Regions from separate parts of the Homo sapiens genome. Here region 1 is linked to region 2. Evidence: promoter capture Hi-C in 16 types of primary human blood cells and fetal thymus (Javierre and others, 2016). All regions are on one chromosome and are shown on one strand. Each heading gives the region's core, a stretch centred on a gene start or on the middle of the fragment in contact. The rest is flanking DNA. Distances are from core to core; before and after follow the strand shown. Region 1 has its middle 39 kb from the start of PSMD11. Region 2 holds the start of RHBDL3 (rhomboid like 3).

Region 1 (3,261 bases), core at 756-3,255, 140 kb before region 2:
TCACTGATAAAATCAGCATCTGAATTCCACAAAAGCAACCAGAGAAAATCACTAGGCCATGTAAACACATGCCTCCTTCGAGGTATTGTTATGGAACGTATATGTTATCCAAAGCCCAGTCCTGGTGAAAAATCTTGTCTTGGGTTTGTAAGGTGACAGCAGAACCTCTGGATCACCCTGGAGGCTAGCTTTCCCTGATTTGATAGTAGAGTTGCTCCAAATCATTCCATTATCACATTGAGTAGAAGTCTTCTGTTAGAATCAATTATCAGAATAAAGGGATCCCATTCCAAAAGAAAATCAACCTGTAGCAAAGAAGTTTTTCTTATAGTGTTTACAGGGTCAAGTTCATATGAGTAAGAAATTCTTTTTTTTTTTTTTTTTTTTGAGACGGAATCTTGCTCTGTCGCCAGGCTGGAGTGCAGTGGCGCGATCTCAGCTCACTGCAAGTTCCGCCTCCCGGGTTCAAGTGAGTTCCCTGCCTCAGCCTCCCAAGTAGCTGGTATTACAGGCACACGCCACCATGCCCGGCTAATTTTTTGTATTTTAGTAGAGACAGGGTTTCACCATGTTGGCCAAGGTGGTCTCAATCTCCTGACCTTCTGATCCGCCTGCCTTGGCCTCCCAAAGTGCTGGGATTACAGGTGTGAGCTACCACACCCGGCCTAAAGTAAGAAATTCTACACAGCCTACAAAAGAATCTGCAGTAAATGTGGATATTTTTCTTTGGTATACAGAATTGTATCCATGTAATTAATACAAATGCACTATTTTTTTTTTTTTAGATGGAGTCTCACTCTGTCGCCCAGGCTGGAGTGCAGTGGTGCAATCTCGACTCACTGCAACCTCTGCCTCCTGGGTTCAAGTGATTCTCCTGCCTCAGCTTCCCGAGTAGCTGGGACTACAGGTGTGCACCACCATGTCTGGCTTATTTTTTGTATTTCTAGTAGAAACAGGGTTTCACCATGTTGGCCAGCCTTGTCTCAAACTCCTGACCTCAGGTGATCTGTCTGCCTCAACCTCCCAAAGTGCTGGGATTGCAGGCATGAGCTACCACGCCCAGCCACAAATGCACTATTTATTCATCATTGAGGCTTAACTTACAAAAGCAAGCTTTTCTGAGTACATAAGAGACATATCCTAAAGCAATGGTTTCCTTATTTCTCAAATTTTAAAAATATAATACCACTTAATTATGTCATTGATATCCTGATCACTTCAACATCCCTGTAAAGCTAATAATGATAATAATCACAGATTTTCTGTTCTTCATCTCAAGGGCTTCTATTTTTGTTGATGCTTGATTTGTTTCACGCACTTCAAGCAGTGCCTCCCTCTAGACTTGCCATGTTTTATTCTTCATCTTTTTCAGACCTAAAAATAACACAAAAATCCTACAAAGCATTATCTAAAATATTTCTAATAAACAAAATTGCATTTTGTATGCAAAGGACTAAATTATGCACATAAATTAATCATTCCTTCGACAAATACATTATCAAGGAGTGTAGCTTAGATCAAATGTTCTAACAGATCACCCAGATTTTTCAGAGGAAAGACAGTGTAACTGTAGAAAATGTAATATAATTTTCAAAAGTATATCATCAGGGCGTGGTGGCTCATGCCTGTAATCCCAGCACATTGGGAGGCCGAGGAGGATGGATCACCTGAGGTCAGGAGTTCGAGACCAGCCTGGCCAACATGGTGAGACCCCATCTCTACTAAAACTACAAAAATTTAGCCAGGTGTGGTGGTACGTGTCTGTAGTCCCAGCTACTCAGAAGGCTAAGGCAGGAAAATCATTTGAACCCGGAAAGTGGAGGTTGCAGTGAGCTGAAATCACACCACTCCAACCTGGGCGACAGAGCAAGACGTTGTCTCAACAACAACAACAACAAAGTATATCATCAGATGTTTGGGCGCAGTGGCTCATGCCTGTAATCCCAGCACTTTGGGAGGCCAAAGCAGCAGATCACTTGAGGTAGGGAGTTTGAGATCAGCCTGGCCAACATGGTGAAACTCGTCTCTACTAGAAATACAAAAATTAGCCAGGCATGGTAGCACGCGCCTATAGTCCCAGCTACTTGGGAGGCTGAGGCAGGAGAATCGCTTGAGCCCGGCAGGCAGAGATTGCAGTGAGCTGAGATGGTGCCACTGCACTGCGGCCTGGGCAACAGAGCTAGACTGCTTTAAAAAAAAAAAAGTATATTATCAGCTATGTAAATTGTGAAAGATAGTTTCAAAGTGGTGTAAAACACACAATTCTTCCTTGAAACAAAAAATATAACAAAGCCTAGGAAAGCCATCACAACCTACCATTACCACATCCTAATCATATGTCTCCCTCCTTAATTATTGTTTCCAAACTTAAACTCCTGGTTGTGCGTGTATCCCAGTGTTACCTGTCTATGTTAACTTGGAGTCAAGTTCTTTGCCTCATTGCTGGTTTCCCAAGATCTAGTACAAAACTTGGCACAAAACATGCTCAATAAACGATCACTGAATTGAAATAAACCTCCTTTACATACCTTGGAGGCACAAATAACATAAGGTATGCAAAAGTACTTTGGAAACTATCAAGCACCATACGAGAGCTGGTTATTACCAGAATGCCACCAGAGAACAGCATCTCACCATTGGCTGTCCTTTGTAAATTCTATTACTGGCATATATAAATCATTGGATCATTAATGCCCATGTCACATATGGCCAAATTTTACTCTAATAATTTTATTCTTCACCTGTCATTTCTAAACAACCTCTCCCAAACAAAAGATGTCCCCAATTTAAAATACTATTTCAATCATGAGATCCAAATAACTAAATCTATAGCAACATAACTGCATAATAGATAGCTCCAAAAATCATGGACTTCTTTCCCATGGAATAAAAGCTTTCCTACACTGCAGCCAATCTGACACCACACTTAATACTGAGTACATTCCTGTTAAAGGCTTGCTGAATTTTAAGAAAACATAAACCCCATACTCAAACTGTACAAGATAAAATTTGCTTAAGGGTATGTGTAGACAAATGAAACAAATTAGTCAGCTCTCTGTCCTGCCCCTTCTCAGAACCCAACTTCCCTGGTCTTTGCAGTTCTGAGTCGCCCTAATCTTCAGGTTCAACCCTTCCCACAACTACCACTTCCAGAGTTAATCCTGACCCCCAAGCAACTCATTGTTCCACCCATCAGTCTACTGAGCAAACATTCATTAACTACTGTGTGTCAGGCGCTATACTAGGCTTGAGAACATCTAT
Region 2 (3,079 bases), core at 2-2,501:
GGTTTTTCACCCCTATGTGTAGGTTAGCCCCGGGAGGTTAACCCAAGAAACTCCAGTTCCCAGGGCTTCGCAGGGCCGGCCCGCAGGACCGGAGGGATGGAGACCCGAGCAGCAGACGGCGGGGAAGCCCTCGGGGCAGCCCCTCCCTCTCCTCGCCCAGGGGACCGTCCCCTGGCACCGCCACGGTCTTGGACTCCCGGGCCTCCTTCTAGGAGCAAAGCCGCTCCCAGCACTCTTTGCCTCCCTGCTCCGGCCGGGGTCAGAGGCGGGGGCCGGCTTGAATTTCAATCAGTGTCGCGGCAAGGCAGGTGCCGGGCGGGAGCTAATCCGGGAGCGGAGGAAGGGGTCGCCAGGCCGGCTTGCATGGCCAGGGACGGGGACTCTGCGGCGTCCGCTCCTTCCCCAGCTCCGGGAGCTCGCAGGTCGCGGGCGTGAGGGGAGGGGGAGTCACCGCCGTGACGCGGCCGCCTCTGCGGGAAAACGCCGTGTCCCGGGCACTGCACCAGCGGCGGGGAGGGGGCTCCGGCGGTGACAGGTCCGCGGCGCAGTGGCGGTGCTGTGTCCCGCAGGGAAGCCGCGGGAACCAGAGCGGGGGAAGCGGTGCGCGCGCGTTTCGGGGAGACCGGTCCCTCCGCCCCCTCCTGCCCGCGGGGACCCGGCCAATCCGGGGCGCTCCCGCGTCACCCTGAAACCTCCAAGTTGCCCGGCGTGGGGCGAGACAGGGGCGGCTTTTCCCCCCGGCGCCCCCTAGAAAGTTTGCCGGGCGGGGAGGGGGCACTCACGTCCTCCGGCGCCGCGGGCAGCCGCTCCTCGGCCTCGGGTTCCAGCTCCTCGATGCGCTCCGCCTCGGCGCAGGCGGCCACCGCGGGGCCCGGGCTGGGGTGCTCGCCCATGGCCGAGACGGGGTCCGGGGGCGGCGGCGGCTGCGGGGCTCGTCCCGGGGCGCCGGGCTAACTTTGCGCCGCGGCGGCCGCGCCGCTCCAGGGGCTCAGTGCGCGCCGCGCCGCCTCCGCGCCCGCTCCGCAGCCCGCGCCCGCCCCCATGGCCCCGGTCCCCGCGCCGCCGCCGCCTCCTCGCGACCCCGGGACGCCCGGCCCCTCCGCCGCCAAACTTCACTGCGCTAGCTGCCCCGCCGGCCTCCGCCTCCGCCCCGGCCCTCGCGCCCGGCTCCGAGGCGAGGGCGCCCTTGGGCCGGCCCCGGCCCCGCCGCTCCCCGCGCTCCCTTCCCGCTTCTCGCGGCCCCCGCTCTGCGCCCGAGTCTCCTCCTCCCCGCGGAGTCCTCGGGGGCGGCGCGCGGGCGGGGGCGGGGCTGCTCGCGGGGAACGCCGGCCCCCGCCCCGCACCCCACCCCGGGCGCCGCCACCCGGGCCCAGTCGGTCAGAGCGGCGCGGCCCGGGAGCGGGAGGGCTGCGGCGGGGCTGGCGAGGAAGTGGTGGCGCTGCCCGGGGCGGGGATGGGGACTGCGCCGTCCCCGGCCCGGTCACCACCGGCCTGCACTCCGGGCCCGGGCTTGGCTCTTCCATCGGCTTAACCATCACTTGGAGGTGGCAGATATGTGATGGAGACACTATGTTGGCGACGTCAGGGTTAACTAGGAGTGAATTGGGGGCGCGATGTTGTAAGGACGGGATTCCTGCCTCCCGCCCCATTATCCTTACGCCCTATTCACTGCGGTCTCAGATTCTGGGAGGTCTCGGGAGGCCCAGAAATGGGAGAAGTCAGATTGCGGGGTCGTGGGCCCCAAAGCCTAAATCTTGCCCTTCCTACACCCAGAGCTAAGTGACCATGCCCAGGCTTCATTTGACCACATGGACAAAGGTAAGCCCAGGGAAATGCCCCATCTGGGGAGAGGGACGGTAAAGAAACTAAAGCAATCAGAAAGGAAGTTAGCCAAAACGGAGTAGGGGATCTTTTAAAGAAAACAATCGATGCTGTTTCCCTGCAGGAAAGCGCCCCCAAGAGAGACCATCTCCCGAAGCAGAGGCTCTGGCTGTAAATGGTGCTAGTGGCCGGCCTGGCAGGGGCCAGCTCTCCCCAGAGGCTCAGGAGCTTCTCCAGGAGGCATCTCGCAGTCAGTCCCCAGCCCACACCAAGGCTGTGCCCTTCCACTCCTCTTGCTTTCCTCTTCCCACCACCCACTCACTCACTAGTCTTTGCCCTCTTCCTTCCTCTGGGAAACGGAACAGGCTCCTTTCCATTAGTGAGAGCTGCAACTAATGCAGTCATCTTCAGAAAGCAAAGACATAACCCCGTGCCCAGGATCCGAACTGCGACCATCACCCAGCAATGACTGCTCCCCTTAAACACCGAGAAGGGAATTCACTTGATTCTAATTAGGTGAGTTTGCTACAGACACCAATTTTCATCTCTGTTTCAGAAAGTGTGATCATTTCAACTATTTTTGTTTCTCACCACCCTCCTCCCCATCCCTACTCTACTAACAAGTCAAGATCCTGCCAAGATTTCCTTGTAAATAAAACTGTCTGCATGGGGTGTGATTTTGAAAACAGCCTTCAGGGGACAGAAGAGAGGCTGATTCCTTTGTGAAGAGGAGCCCAGAAGGACAAATGACCGCTGGGGCCCTGGGGTCTGTGTCGCTGCCTCCCGCATCCCAGGCTGTCATTTGCATGACCGGTATGGGTGTTGGCTCTGTTATACTTAGATCTCTGGGACTAGAGAAGTGGGCCAGGAAGTCTGGTTCCAGGGGAACTGGAAGGAGAAGGGCACAGAAAAGGGTTGGCCACTCTGCTGGGATGCCCAGCCACCCTGGACAGTGTTCTGATACCAGCTACCCAGGGAGCTGCCTCTTCATCAGCCCAGGGACAGCTCTTATCAACATATCCAACTCTGTCATCCCTTCGTGGGGAAGGGAGCTTAGCAGGCTCAGTTCTGTTCCTGAACATGTATTAAGCTCCTACTAAGTACCAATGACAGAGCTTTGAGAATACAGAGGTGGATAAGAACCAGACCCTGCCCTCCAGAAATGGATAATTGGGGGTGACAGTCACATTCAACACAAGGGTAAGTCCTGGATTCAAGGGAAGCCCAGAAGGTGTAGAACTCCAAAGGAGGGGGTCGC

The links. Contacts are between HindIII fragments. The CHiCAGO score rates a contact against its expected background, and 5 or more counts as called.
Region 1: a fragment that was not itself captured here is called in contact with the fragment with the promoter of RHBDL3 in region 2 in 1 of 17 cell types (erythroblasts); the score reaches 5.2 in erythroblasts.

Annotation. Positions count from the first base shown.
Region 1 is chr17:32,403,606-32,406,866 of GRCh38, reverse strand. No RefSeq gene overlaps it. Among named protein-coding and RNA genes, the nearest start is that of PSMD11, 39 kb to the left of the region's middle. The HindIII fragment of the contact is 1,780 bases long and covers 1,116-2,895 here.
Region 2 is chr17:32,264,004-32,267,082 of GRCh38, reverse strand. RHBDL3 (rhomboid like 3) reads right to left here and starts at 1,251. Exons shown (of 9, transcript NM_138328.3): 1 at 783-1,251. The coding sequence starts at 893. LOC105371731 (a long non-coding RNA gene) reads left to right here and starts at 1,632. Exons shown (of 3, transcript XR_934665.2): 1 at 1,632-1,818; 2 at 2,187-2,337. The HindIII fragment of the contact is 5,065 bases long and covers 1-3,079 here.